2 separate regions of the Homo sapiens genome follow, and region 1 is linked to region 2. The links are contacts of gene promoters, found by promoter capture Hi-C in human tissues and cell types (Jung and others, 2019). All regions are on one chromosome and are shown on one strand. The core of a region is centred on a gene start or on the middle of the fragment in contact, and the rest is flanking DNA. Distances in the headings are between cores, read along the strand shown.

Region 1 (6,785 bases), core at 2,074-4,573, 310 kb before region 2:
CTTCTCAAGTAAAAGAAGGAGCCAACATACTGAGGAAGAGCATTTTGGTAGAAGGAGAGCACTAGCAAAGGCTCTGAGGTGGAGAGAATTTGGTACAATCAAGAAACCAGCCAGGCACAGTGAGTGGCTCATGCCTGTAATCCCAGCACTTTGGGAGGTCGAGGCCGACGGATCACTTGAGGTCAGGAGTTTGAGACCCGCCTGGCCAGTATGGTGAAACCCATCTCTACTAAAAATACAAAAATTAGCTGGGCATGGTGGCGCGTGCCTGTAATCCCAGCCACCTGGGAGGCTGAGGCACGAGAATTGCTTGACCCCAGGAGGTGGAGGTTGCAGTGAGCCAAGATCACGCCATTGCACTCCAGCCTGGGTGACAGCGAGACTCGTTCCCCAAGGAAAAAAAAAAAACAATAGCAGGCAGTGAAGACAGAATGGATGGGCAAGGGGAGAGAGCAGAAGAGTCAGGGGAAATCTGGCTGACATGTGCCAGGCCTTGTGCACCTTGATTAGGAGTTTGGGCTTCACCCTGAAGGAGACAGGAAACCAGAAGGGGTGGAGTTAACCTCGGGAGTGACATGATCTAATTTGCACCATTAGAAGGGCACTGCCTGATGTGTGGGGGAAGATCTCCAGCAGGCATTTAGTCACAGGCTTTGGAAATTCAGAAGCTGAGGGTTAGTGATCTCGACTTGGAAGTCATCAACATAACAGTCGAATGGTGAGGGATACAAGTCACCTCAAACAATTGGCCAAGAAACAGTCACGGTGATGCCATGCTAGGTACTGTTGCCAAGGAAATTAGCAAACAGATTTGGAATCTGCCTTTATGTAGCAATCAGCATAGTGAATGTGGATGTTCTACAAAAAAGCATAAATATTTGAGAGCAATGAGAAGTCACTCGTTGAATTTAAGCAAGAGAATTAAATGATCTAGTTTACATTTTAAGAGAGACAGGGTCGGGAGAGGGGGGAGGGATAGCATTAGGAGATATACCTAATGTTAAATGACAAGTTAATGGGTGCAGCACACCAACGTGGCACATGTGTACATATGTAACTAACCTGCACGTTGTGCACATGTACCCTAAAACTTAAAGTATATATAAATAAAAATAATAAAAAAAATAAATAAATAAATAAAAGAGACAGGGTCTTGCTGTGTCACCCAGGCTGGTGTGCAGTGGTGCAATCATAGCTTGCTGCAACCTTGGAATCCTGGGCTCAAGAAATCCCCCCACCTCAGCCTTCCAAGTAGCCGAAATCATAAGTGCACACCACCACACCCGGCTAATTAAAAAAAAACTTTTTTTGTAGAGACGGGGGTCTCACTGTGTTGTCCAGGCTGGTCTCGAACTTCTGAACTCAAGTGATCTTCCTGCCTTGGCCTCCCAAAGTGCTGGTATTACAAGGGTGAGCCACCACACCTGGCCTGATTTCCATGTTTGAACGGTTGCACTGGTTGAGTGTTGGGATGGTGTCATGAACAGAAGAGGAGATGATGATGAAAGCACTACTGTGTAGTTCAGTCAAGAAGTGTCATGACTTGGAACCGGATGAGTCAATGGAAGTAAAAAGGGGATCATTTCAATGTATGTTTAAGGTGGGCTCAGAATTTGGTGATTGATTCAAAATGGAAGTGGAAGGGTCCATGGCTACTGGCATGAGCAACTGTGATGCAATCCATGGACAGGAGAAACCTGGGAGAAGAGGAGGTAGAGCATGAGAGTAGAACTCAGTACTGACAAGGTATGGTTGTAAAATGAATAGACACTCCCAGCAGGCAGTATGAATATGGTGAAATATGTCCATGCTCAGAAAAGAATCTGGAATGAAGCTACAAATTGTGATTCATCAATGTTCAGATGGTGTTTGAAGCCAGCAGAATAAAACAGACCATACTGGTGGATGAGAGAAGAGGGCTCAGGACAAGCCCCCAAAGCACTGGGGTCCAGAAGAGCATCTTGAAAACAGCGTGAGGAGACTGGGCGCGGTGGCTCACGCCTGTAATCCCAGCACTTTGGGACGCTGAGGCTGGTGGATCACGAGGTTGGGAGATCGAGACCATCCTGGCTAACATGGTGAAATCCCGTCTCTACTAAAAATACAAAAAATTAGCTGGGCATGGTGGCGGGCGCCTGTAGTCCCAGCTACTCAGGAGGCTGAGGCAGGAGAATGGCGTGAACCCAGGAGGCAGAGCTTGCAGTGAGCCAAGATCGTGCCACTGCACTCCAGCCTGGGCGACAGAGCGAGACTCCGTCTCAAAAGAAAAAAAAAAAAAAAGAAAGAAAGAAAAAGAAAAGAGAGTGAGAAATGACTACTAGCAGAGATTGATCTATTTTCCTATCAGCCACCTGGAGAGACTGGGCTTATTCTTATTTGCTCAGTCGCTCCTGGCAAGACAGATTTGGAAACAAATCAACATGCTTTCGATGTGCTTAATACCAGCATTTTCTCTCCAGCTCTTAAAATTATGGTTTTTTAATTGATTGAACAAGCCATAATTTATTCAGTGAACAACTGTAGGGGATGTACAAATGTATCTGGTTTTTTTTTTTTTTTGGATTGTGAAACTATCATCAAAAGCAAAGAGATAACCAGGAAGGAAGACATTTGTCTGAAAACCATATGCCAGGCCAGGCGTGGTGGCTCATGCCTGAAATCCGAGCACTTTGGGAGACTGAGGTGGGTGGATCACAAGGTCAGGAGTTTGAGACCAGCTTGGCCAACACGGTGAAACCCCGTCTCTACTAAAAAAAAAATACAAAAATTGGCTGGGCATGGTGGCGTGTACCTGTAATCCCAGCTACCTGGGAGGCTAAGGCAGGAGAATTGTTTGAACCCAGGAGGCAGAGGTTGCAGTAAGCCGAGACTGCGCCACTGCCCTCCAGCCTGGGTGACAGAGGACGACTCCGTCTCAAAACAAAACAAAACAAAATAAAAACAACAACAACAAAAATGCCATCCTGAAAGTGGAAAGATTCACAAAGAATGAGCTTCATTTCTTCACATTTGGAAGAAACCAGGACTGTAAGGTCCACTTAGAGAAGCAGAAGGAGGACCAGGAGAGATGAGTCAAACAAATGATGCTTGAGGAACACTGATTCAGGAATGAGGTTGCAAGAATAAGAAATGCACAGCTAATGTTAAGTAGAATTCAAGCCTTCTTCCACTAAACAATATTCTTTTTTGTTTTGTTTTGTTTTGTTTTTGAGACAGAGTCTTGCTCTGTCACCCAGGCTGGAGTGCAGTGGCAGGATCTCAGGTCACTGCGAGCTCTGCCTCCCGGGTTCATGCCATTCTCCTGCCTCAGCTTCCAGAGTAGCTGGGACTACAAGCGCGCGCCACCACACCCAGCTAATTTTTTGTATTTTTAGTAGAGACGGGGTTTCACCGTGTTAGTCAGGATGGTCTCGATCTCCTGACCTCATGATCCACCCTCCTTGGCCTCCCAAAGTGCTGCCATTACAGGCATGAGCCACCGCGCCTGGCCTTGTTTTTGTTTTTTGAGACAGAGTCTCATTCTGTCACCCAGGCTGGAGTGCAATGGCATGATCTTGGCTCACTGCGACCTTCACCTCCTGGGTTCAAGCAATTCTCTGCCTCGGCCTCTCAAGTAGCTGGGATTCAGGCACCCGCCACCACACCTGGCTAATTTTTGTATTTTTAGTAGAGACAGGGGTGTCGCCATCTTGGCCAGGCTGGTCTTGAACTCCTGACCTTGTGATCCACCCACGTTGGCCTCTCAAAATGTTGGGACTACAGGCGTGAGCCACCGTGCCTGGCCCACTAAACAATATTCTTATCAATGAATACCACTACATACATGACTCATTGTAAAACAACATTCAGATTTAATAAACCATAAATGCACAGGGAAAAACCCCTGAAAATTATGATTTTGGGAATGCTTTTGGTCAAAACACTCAACTTCTTAGACTTGCAAACAGTTCAGTGTAGAAAAGCCTTATATATGAAATATACGTAGTAAATTTTTTAAGTGTAGCACAAGTCTCAGTCAATGTAAGCGAATTCATGTTAGAGAGAGTTGAGTTGAATGTAAGGAATGTGGAAAAGTGTATTCAGAGCTCCTCTCATCTTTGTTTTGAGAGCACTCACACAGTTGACAAACCCTCCAGATGTTCTGAATGTGAGAAATCCCTGTTTATGGTAAATACTTTCTGACATCAGAGAAGTCATACTGGAGAGAGACCATATAAATGTAGTATGTGTAAAGAAGTCTTTAAACAGAGCTCAACCCCACTGATGTATGAGCAAACTCTCTCAGGAAATAGACCTTACAAATGTGTTGAGTGTTGGAGAGTCTTTATTAAGAAATATTTCTTTCAGTATGTTTCAGAACTTATACAGGAGAACAATACTATAAATGTAATCGCTGTAGCAAAGGCTGTAGACACAAATTATACCTTATTCAATATGAGACAATTTATACTTGTGGGAAATTATATATTTGCAGTGAATTTAGGAAATTCTTCTAAAGAAGTGAACACTTTTACCCTATAGCTAAGAATCTATAGAGACACCTTATGAAGGGAATCATTCAGGGAAAGGTTTTACACTTTGCTCCTCCACTACTCAAAAATCACAGAAGACACACTGGAGAGCAAAGTGATGGATACAGTCATCGTGGGAAAGGCTTCAGACGTAGCCTAGCCCTTATGATGTGACATCAGAGGACTCATACTGAGGAAAACCCCATACATGTAATTTGCGTGGAAGAGCATTCAGGAGTTGTTCTCATATTATTGAACGTAAGAGGACTCATACTGGAGAACACTATGAATGCAGTCAGTATTGGCAAGCTTTCAACCATGGCTTTTACCTTATTTGACACCAGGAAATTCAAACAAATTAGAAAAACTCATTGAAAAAAGATCAATGTGGAAAAGCTATTGGTTGGAATTCCATTTTATTTGACATCAGGGATAAAGGAGGCAAAAGCCACCAGTTATTTTTTAACTCTTAAGTATCTGAATGTAACAAGACTGCAAACTTGTGACTCCCTGCAGCCACAGATCAGCAGGGATAAGCAGTTCTATTCTACATATGTCCCTAATTTGCCATAGAAACACCATTTAATGGGGACTCAGGGTCTAGGCCTGATGAACAATGTCTCATAGAAATGTCTGGCCATATGCGGCTGGGCACAGTGGCTCACGCCTGTAATCCCAGCACTTTGGGAGTCCGAGGCGGGTGGATCACGAGGTCAGGAGATCAAGACCATCCTGGCTAGCACCGTGAAACCCCGTCTCTACTAAAAATACAAAAAAAAAAAATTAGCTGGGTGTGGTGGTGGGCGCCTGGAGTCCCAGCTACTCAGGAGGCTGAGGCAGGAGAATGGTGTGAACCCAGGAGGCAGAGCTTGCTGTAAGCCGAGATCGTGCCACTGCACTCCAGCCTGGGTGACAGAGCAAGACTCCGTCTCAAAAAAAACAAGAAAAAAAGAAAAAGAAAAAGAAATGTCTCCCATATGCCTGTAATCCCAGCTACACAGGAGGCTGAGGCAGGAGAATAGCTGAACCCAGGAGGTGGAGGTTGCAGTGAACCAAGATCACACCACTGCCCTCCAGCCCGGGCAACAGAGCAAAACTCCATCTCAAAAAAAAAAAAAAAAATGGTTGCCATAGATAATCATGGCTGGGCACAGAGGCTCACACCTGTAATCCCAGCACTTTTGGAGGGCAAGGCAGGTGGATCACTTGAGCTCAGGAGTCCAAGACCAGCCTGTGCAACATGGAGAAACCCCGTCTCTAATAAAAATACAAAAATTAGCTGTGCGTGGTGGTGCATTCCTGTAGTCCCAGCTACTTGGGAAGTGAGGACTGCTTGAGGGGGTCAAGGCTACAGTGAGCTGAGATGGTACCACTGCACTCCAGCCTGGGTGACTAAACGAGACCCTGTCTAAAAGAAAAGAAAAGAAGAGAAATGGTTGTCATAGGTAATCACATGTAAATTTTTTTTTTTTTAAAGAGTGAGCAACAGTAAGATTTATTGCAAAGAGCGAAAGAACAAAGCTTCCACAGTGTGGAAGGGGACCCAAGCGGGTTGCCCATAAATGTTATCAGTGGCAACAGCGTATCTGTTTTTCTACATCACGTATGAATAAAAGAACCGTCAACCTTGAAGAATGGTGCAGGAATCATATGGCAACAGCGTATCTATTTTTCTACATCACGTATGAATAAAAGAACCGTCAACCTTGAAGAATGGTGCAGGAATCATACACCTTTTAGCATCATGGGGATCCTTATGTGTATAATTTTATGATAGTCCTAGATGAGGGCTGAAGGATATGCTATCAATTTTTTTCTGCATAATCCAAATATTATCACTCCAAACAAATCAGAGAGCTTTATACTAACTTGCTAATACTTTGCCAATAGCATTCTTCTATCTACTTGAATAGAAGCATCATAAAGAGTTGTATGTTGGCCAGGCACGGTGACTCACACCTGTAATCCCAGCATTTTGGGAGGCCGAGGCAGGAGGATCACCTGAGGTCAGGAGTTTGAGACAAGCCTGGCCAACATGGTGAAACCCTGTCTCTAGTAAAAATAGAAAAATTAGCTGAGTGTGGTGGCACATGCCTGTAATCCCAGCTACTTGGGAGGCTAAGGCAGGAGAATCAGTTGATCCCGGGAGGTAGAGGTTGCAGTGAGCCAAGGTTGTGCCATTGCACTCCAGCCTGGGTGACAAGAGCAAAACTCCATCTCAAAAAAATAAAAAAAATGAGTTGTACGTATCTTCACATTTCTAAGGGCATGTCC
Region 2 (6,874 bases), core at 4-2,503:
CACCTCATCCCCAAAAACAACCTGAGGAGGCCGTTGGAAAGCTCCGAGTTGACAAGTCTCATCCACGCACATGCTCGGTGCTTCCAATCGGTGATCAAGACCACTGCTCTTCATCCAGAGCAGGCAGCAGGGATTCCCAGGTATCCAAAGAAACCAAAACAGGCGGTGTAATTTAGGACTGACTAAGTAATGGCTCGGCCACTTTTAAGTGTGGAAGCAAAACTGACCCCACAGATTTAGAAAACTGTAACACTGCTTATTGGGAGAAACTAGTGTCACCCTGGCTAGTTCTGCTCCCCAAATTCAAAGGTAAATAAACGGTTGAGCATGTCCGATCAGCCTGGAGGGAAACCTCCACCCCCGACTTTGTAGGACTGACATCTGAAGACGTCAGAGACTGCGGTCACAACCGTCGGTACCTCCTTAGGGCGCTTAACAGAGGTCAAAGATGGCCCTCGCACCCTCCTGGCGGGAGAAAGCCCAGGCTCAGGGTGGTCTTCTACACCACCGCCTCTCCCGGGTCCACTTGGAAGCGAGTCCCAGCGAACTACTCGACCTAGGAAACCACTGGGCCGCCACTTCCAGCCTCTTCGGAAGTCGAGGCAACGCTCCTGAACGTTGCCACGGGAACAGCTGGAGGCGGGCGGATATGCCCTAGCGTTATCTAGGGGCTGGCCCGGGGAATGGCGTGGGGGCGGCGGGGCCAAGCAAGCGCCACCTCTGATTGGGCAAAACCCCCTCCCCTCACCTGCCAATAGAAACCGGCCCACTGTACAGACGCGCAAGTTTATAACCCGGGAAGAGCTGCTCTCAGAGCGGAGGGAGACCATATAACCCTGGGACTCTGCCGTACCTCCTAGAGGAACAGAGCGCCTCTCAGGCGTCAGAGGCTGCTGCAAATGCGGGTCAGCGGGTCACGGTCGCGCCTGTCTTGCTGATGCTCATGGGAAATGTAGTTCAAAGGGCATGGGCGGTGCCTTCGGTGCAGGCGAGAGATTGGTCAGCGCGGCGTCGCCGGGGCAACACCCGGCTGAGGCGCCCCGCGTTGTGCGGCGCCACATCCGGGAAGCGGCCTCCAAGCAACCGCTCCGGGTTGAGGTGAGCGCAGGCTGCCAGAGTGGGCGCAGCCTTTCCACCCCGTGGGAGGGCTTGGGGTCGCCCTCTGGGGCCTGAACGGCTCCTGCTGTCGGCGCCCTGGAGGGCCCGCCCACTTCCCGACAGGCCGCGCGCGTCACCTCAGCCTTCGCTCAGGCCTTTCCTACCCTCAACGCCGTTCCGGGGGGCCGGGCCTGGCAAGTCCTCTTGGAACGCCTCCCTCTTGCCTTCCCCTTTTGGGGACAGATCCCGAAGTTCGAGCATCCCTCGGATAGGCCGGGTGTCAGGCCTGGTCTCTCAGGCCCGTCCAGGTGGGCGTCTTTCACTGCAGACCTTCAGGGCCGGGATGCTGTGGCCATCCCTCGACTCCGCGCAACGTGGAGCTTTGGCCCCGTTTTTCTTGGCCTTTGCTTTTCGTTTTCACATGCACGGGCCCCGGCAGTGTGAGTCGCCCACGGCTCGCTGTGGTCAGCGAGCACGATGTCCACGTGCCCCCTCCCCAGAGCCATTCCTAAAGGAGGTCCCACCCAGTCAACCTCCCCGAGATTGTGGAGGGCGACTCGTCCCCGTACATTACAGCCTGGCCCCACCTTCTACCCGCCCACCCTGGTCCACTCTCCTCGCACCTCGGCTAGACACTGTGGCTCCTCAGCCTGGCGCTGGAACTCTGTGATGACTGTCTTTCTCCACCTCTTTAGCGTCATCTCCCAGCAGTCCCCTGCTGGACCCAACTGTTTGCAATTTCCAGGAAGCTCCCTGGACACCTTGCGTCCAAGCATTTGTCCCTGAGGCTTCCTCCTGCTCTCATTTGCCATCATTGTTTGGGTCCTGTGACCCTCCTCCTTCCATGAAGCTTTCTTGGCCTTATCTCTTCTGGCCTCAGAGTACACTTGGTCCTGGTCTCAGCCCCCTGGGCTGAGCCTGGTGTCTGCCTTCCCCTGGCCAGATTCTCTTGGCTGACATTCCGACCCTTCCTTTTCTGTAGGCCCATCTTGACGATTCCAAGACCACCCCCTTGAGCAAGAATGCCATCCCCTCTGGGTCCCCCATGCCTGCCCGTCATGGACCCAGAGACCACCCTTGAGGAGCCTGAGACTGCCCGCCTCCGCTTCCGAGGGTTCTGCTACCAGGAGGTGGCAGGTCCCCGAGAAGCCCTGGCCCGGCTGCGTGAGCTGTGTTGCCAGTGGCTGCAGCCTGAGGCACACTCCAAGGAGCAGATGCTGGAGATGCTGGTGCTGGAGCAGTTCCTGGGCACACTGCCTCCCGAGATCCAGGCCTGGGTGCGCGGTCAGCGGCCAGGCAGTCCTGAGGAGGCCGCTGCCCTAGTCGAAGGACTGCAGCATGACCCTGGGCAACTGTTGGGCTGGGTGAGTGTGGCTGGCATCAGCTTCTTGGAGGGATAGACCCTGGCTAGAGCCATTGTGACCTACCTCTTCTCCTCAGATCACAGCCCATGTCCTGAAGCAGGAGGTGCTCCCTGCAGCCCAGAAGACAGAGGAACCACTTGGGAGCCCCCACCCCTCAGGGACAGTGGAGTCCCCTGGGGAAGGTCCCCAGGACACCAGAATAGAGGGGTCTGTCCAGCTCAGCTGCAGTGTGAAGGAGGAGCCCAATGTCGATGGACAGGAAGTGGGTGAGGTTGGGGTCCCACCAGAGATGAGGGACTCCTGGAGGAAGTGTGGACATTCCTGGCTAGGGTGGGAGTCCCAGGAGAGGTGTGTCAAGGCTGGGACTCCTGAAGTGAATGTGGATGTCCCTGTCTGGGATGGGGACCTGGGAGGCAGGAGCCAAGGGCTGGCTACGTGCCATGTCACACAGCAGAGGAGCTCCTCATCTGCCATGGCTCATGTGGGCAGCCCCTGACACCACCCTTCCATCTGCCCCACTTTTCAGCACCCTCCAGCCCTCCACTTGCAGCACAGTCCCCTGAGGGGAACCATGGACACCAAGAACCAGCCTCCACATCCTTCCACCCACCCAGGATTCAGGTGAGCAGCCCCAAGTGGGAAGTATAGGCCCCAGGTGTGAGAAGGGACTGTCCCCATGGCTGCCCTCTGCCTGGTGGTTTTCCAGGCTCCTTGACTAGTGGCTCTTTGCTTCCCAGAAGTGGAGTCTGTAAAAGCTGTACCCCTCCACAGGACCTGGGGCAGAGGGACAGACTGGTGATCTATTATTGAAAAGGATTTGGGGCTGGACATGGTGGCTTACACCTGTAATCCTAGCACTTTGGGAGGCTGAGGTGAGCGGATCACCTGAGGTCAGGAGCTCGAGACCAGCCTGACCAATGTGGTGAAACCCTGTATCTACTAAAGATACAAAAATTAGCCAGAAGTGGTGGCAGGCGCCTGTAATCCCAGCTACTAGGGAGGGTGAGGCAGGACAATTGCTTGAACCCAGGAGGCAGAGGATGCAGTGAGCCGAGATTGTGCCACTGCGCTCCAGCCTGGTCAACAAGAGCAAAATTGTGTGTCAAAAACAAAAAAAAAAAAAAGGATTTGGGCCTCAAGCCATGGAAACCCAGTTTAGAGTGGCTGGAACTAGTGGGCTTGGCTTCCTCACCTCCAGAGAAGTCAGCTGGGAGGTTTGCTGCTCCCAGAGGTCCTGAGCCAGACCTGGGGATTTGAACTTTTGTGTGTAGCTGGGGAGGGGAGAAGATGACCAGCTGTGGCAGGACTCCCCCCACACCTGAGACCAGATGGAGACACTCTCCCTGGGAAATGCCCGAAGTCCCTTCTCTCCTAGGGGTTTCTTCAGAGGCCACCTGTTAGGCCTGGAAGCTCAGCTTGAGGCCTCTTCTACCTGGATCGCTTGGTTCCCAAGTGTGGGTAGCAAGGTCTTTTCCTCTCCCGGCTCCTCTAACAACTCCACTGGGGAGCTTCAGCAGCAACATTGCTGGTTGAGATGTGTTTCGAGGCTAAGAAGTCCTTCCAGGCTCCCTCCACAGCCCCATGGCACAGTCAGAAAGTGAGGCAGGGTGGGTAGGCTGCACTTCCCAGTGTCCTCACCTCCAGCCAGCACCATCTCTAGCTGTGGCTCCTCACAGCTGCCGCCTTCCTGCCCCTGGACTTGCCACAGCTTGTCCCTCAGGATTATTTTTCCCAACCCAGCAAAGCCCCAGATGATGGGACTCAGGCAGCAAGGAGGGCTGACCCCCAATCAGGGAGTTCATTCCTCGATAAAGTCACTCAGGTCCCTGTGATGCTGCCAAACCTGCCCTCTGAGCAGGATGGTGTAGTAGAGGGGGATGAGTGCTGGCAGCAGCACTGGTCAGGTGATCTGAAGGAGAACCTCTGCACTTAACAAACACACACCTTGAGATCATTCTCAGCAGGAGGGGCAGATGAGGCGTAGGTAACCTGCTGACTCTTCCGGGTAATAGGTAAGAATGTGAACCAGACAGGGCAGGGAAGGGGTGGAAAGACGCCTACAGTGATGGGCCACATCCGCAGGAGGAGTGGGGGCTGCTGGACCGGTCACAGAAGGAACTGTACTGGGATGCGATGCTGGAGAAGTACGGCACAGTGGTCTCCCTGGGTGAGGACCAGCCAGCCCCACCCCGCCCCTCTCCCTGGGGCCTGCACCCACCCTGCAGCAGGCCTAGCTGGGCAGGGCCTCTGTGCTACCAGCCCTACCCAGCTCTCCCACCTTCCAGAGGAACACCCTGTCACCTACCAGAACCGACCCCACCCCTCCTTCATGCAAACCCCATGCCTAACTGTGCCCCCCACCCGGGCAGGGTTACCGCCCCACCAGCCAGAGGCACAGGCCCAGTCAGAGCTGGGGATGCTGCTCACGGGGACAGGCGTCTGCAGAAGCCTGCGCTCGGGTGAGTGCCCCACACCATCCAGCCTGAATCACCCCTCCTGTATCGGTGGGACCTGAGCCACCCACTCATGGGGGGACGGGAGCTTGTGCCACGGCCACAAGCCTGAGGGAGGGGTTGCTGAGTGCCGGGACTCACCTGGTTTGCCCCTGCCCCCAGGAAATGAGAGTGAGGGTCCACCTGGCTGCCCAGAGGCCCAGCCGCCCCAGGGCCCAGGGCCGGCAGCCTGGGAGGGCTTGTCTGGGGCTGCCACTCCTGCCCCCACTGTGCGCCCAGGGACACCGCCAGTGCCCACTCAGCCCACACCTGCAGAGACGAGACTGGAGCCGGCTGCCACCCCCAGGAAGCCCTACACGTGCGAGCAGTGTGGCCGCGGCTTCGACTGGAAGTCAGTGTTCGTCATCCACCACCGGACACACACGAGTGGGCCAGGTGTGCAGTCCCCGGGGCTAGCCACCGGGGAAAGCACAGAGAAGCCACCACAAGGGGAGGTGGCCTTTCCGCACCACCCCCGACGCTCACTCACAGGCCCCCGGAGTTACCCGTGTGAGGAGTGCGGGTGCAGCTTCAGCTGGAAGTCGCAGCTGGTCATCCACCGCAAGAGCCACACAGGCCAGCGGCGTCACTTCTGCAGTGACTGTGGCCGCGCCTTCGACTGGAAGTCGCAGCTGGTCATCCACCGCAAGGGCCACCGGCCGGAGGTTCCATGAGCAGCCAGACAGCACAGTCCCTCGGGGCCTCGGTGTTCTCGGGGCCTGGATACAGCCTCTGGGGCACCAGCAGAAGACTCTGGAGGCAGCAGGGGATGCCAGAGTGAACAAGGGGTCCCAAGCCAGTTCCCTGCCCCTGGTCTGGTCTCCCCCAAAAGACCTGGGTGCAAGGAAAAGGAGCTGCTCTCTCTCTTCTTGCCCCTGCCTCCTAGAGGGAGGTCTGGGTTCCCTTCTATGGCTGACCAGTGCCTGTGGGGTGACTGCCAAGCACCAGGCTCCCTCCCTCCCTGTGACATGGCCTGGGCTGACAACACTCCCTCTCCTGGGACCTCCTTGCCTCAGGTGGGTGTTCAAAAACTGTGCCTTCCCACTCGTCTGTGCAGAGGCTGGGCCTGAGGTCTCAGTGTGGAGAGCAGCAGAAGACCCAGGAAAGCACAGTTGGCTTCCGTTTCTCCTGCTCCCTGTGTGTGTTAGAATTTTAACATAAATTCCACTTTCATAATATGGAGTTTCTGAATAAGAATCCTGATTTCTGGCTTCTGCTGGTCGGGAAATAGGCAGTTTGCTGTCTCTGCCCAGTAGCTGCAGCACAGGGCAGTTGAGCCCAGAACGGCCAAACCTCTGTTGCCACAGAACCCAGGTCCCAGGTCCCCAGCCTCCCTTGCTCCTTGCCGCCCACATCACTCACCAGCCTCACTGGCCTTGGAACTCATCAGTCCCGGCTTGAGAGACACAAAGGGGATTTCCTTTCGAAGTACGGCTGGACAAGGGGGACCTCTGAGAAGAGGGGCTGCAAGCAGGGGTTGCGCCAAGGCCATGGGTACTTCTAGGTCAGGCCGCACCCTCCATAGTTAGCTGGTCATGCAGCAGGAAGGCAAAAGGTCAGCTCCCTGGGAAGCACCGGATCTCTGGGCAGTCACTGGGGACTCGCCAATGCACTGTATTAGTTTTCTGTTGCTGCTTTAACAAACTTGGCAGCTTGAAACAACAGATTCTCTTATAGCTCTGAAGGTCAGAACTCTGACATGGGTCCCACTGGGCTAAAATCAAGGTTTTGTTTTGTTTTGTTTTGTTTTGTTTTGTCTGAGATGGAGTCTCGCTCAGTTGCCCAGGCTGCAGTGCGGTGGCACAATCTCGGCTCACTGCAAGCTCTGCCTCCCGGGTTCACGCCATTCTCCTGCCTCAACCTCCTGAGTAGCTGGGACTACAGACACCCGCCACCACGCCCGGCTAATTTTTTTGCATT

Evidence for each region. The method cuts DNA at HindIII sites, captures the fragments that hold promoters and counts their contacts. A contact is called where the count stands out against the background at its distance.
Region 1: a fragment that was not itself captured here is called in contact with the fragment with the promoter of ZNF446 in region 2 in 1 of the 25 tissues and cell types used here (spleen).

What each region holds. Positions count from the first base shown.
Region 1 is chr19:58,162,210-58,168,994 of GRCh38, forward strand. All of the region lies in intron 1 of LOC124904784 (a long non-coding RNA gene), which reads left to right. Among named protein-coding and RNA genes, the nearest start is that of ZNF329, 15 kb to the left of the region's middle. The HindIII fragment of the contact is 6,997 bases long and covers 1-6,785 here.
Region 2 is chr19:58,475,099-58,481,972 of GRCh38, forward strand. ZNF446 (zinc finger protein 446) reads left to right here and starts at 1,254. Exons shown (of 7, transcript NM_017908.4): 1 at 1,254-1,406; 2 at 2,081-2,462; 3 at 2,539-2,728; 4 at 2,989-3,083; 5 at 4,545-4,629; 6 at 4,832-4,921; 7 at 5,078-6,132. The coding sequence starts at 2,121. The coding sequence ends at 5,628. ZNF324 (zinc finger protein 324) reads left to right here. Exons shown (of 4, transcript NM_014347.3): 4 at 1-338. LOC112268251 (a long non-coding RNA gene) reads right to left here. Exons shown (of 3, transcript XR_007067366.1): 2 at 6,317-6,874; 3 at 5,999-6,089. RefSeq lists enhancers at 343-432, 493-552, 793-1,042, 864-1,158, 1,313-1,512. The HindIII fragment of the contact is 17,703 bases long and covers 1-6,874 here.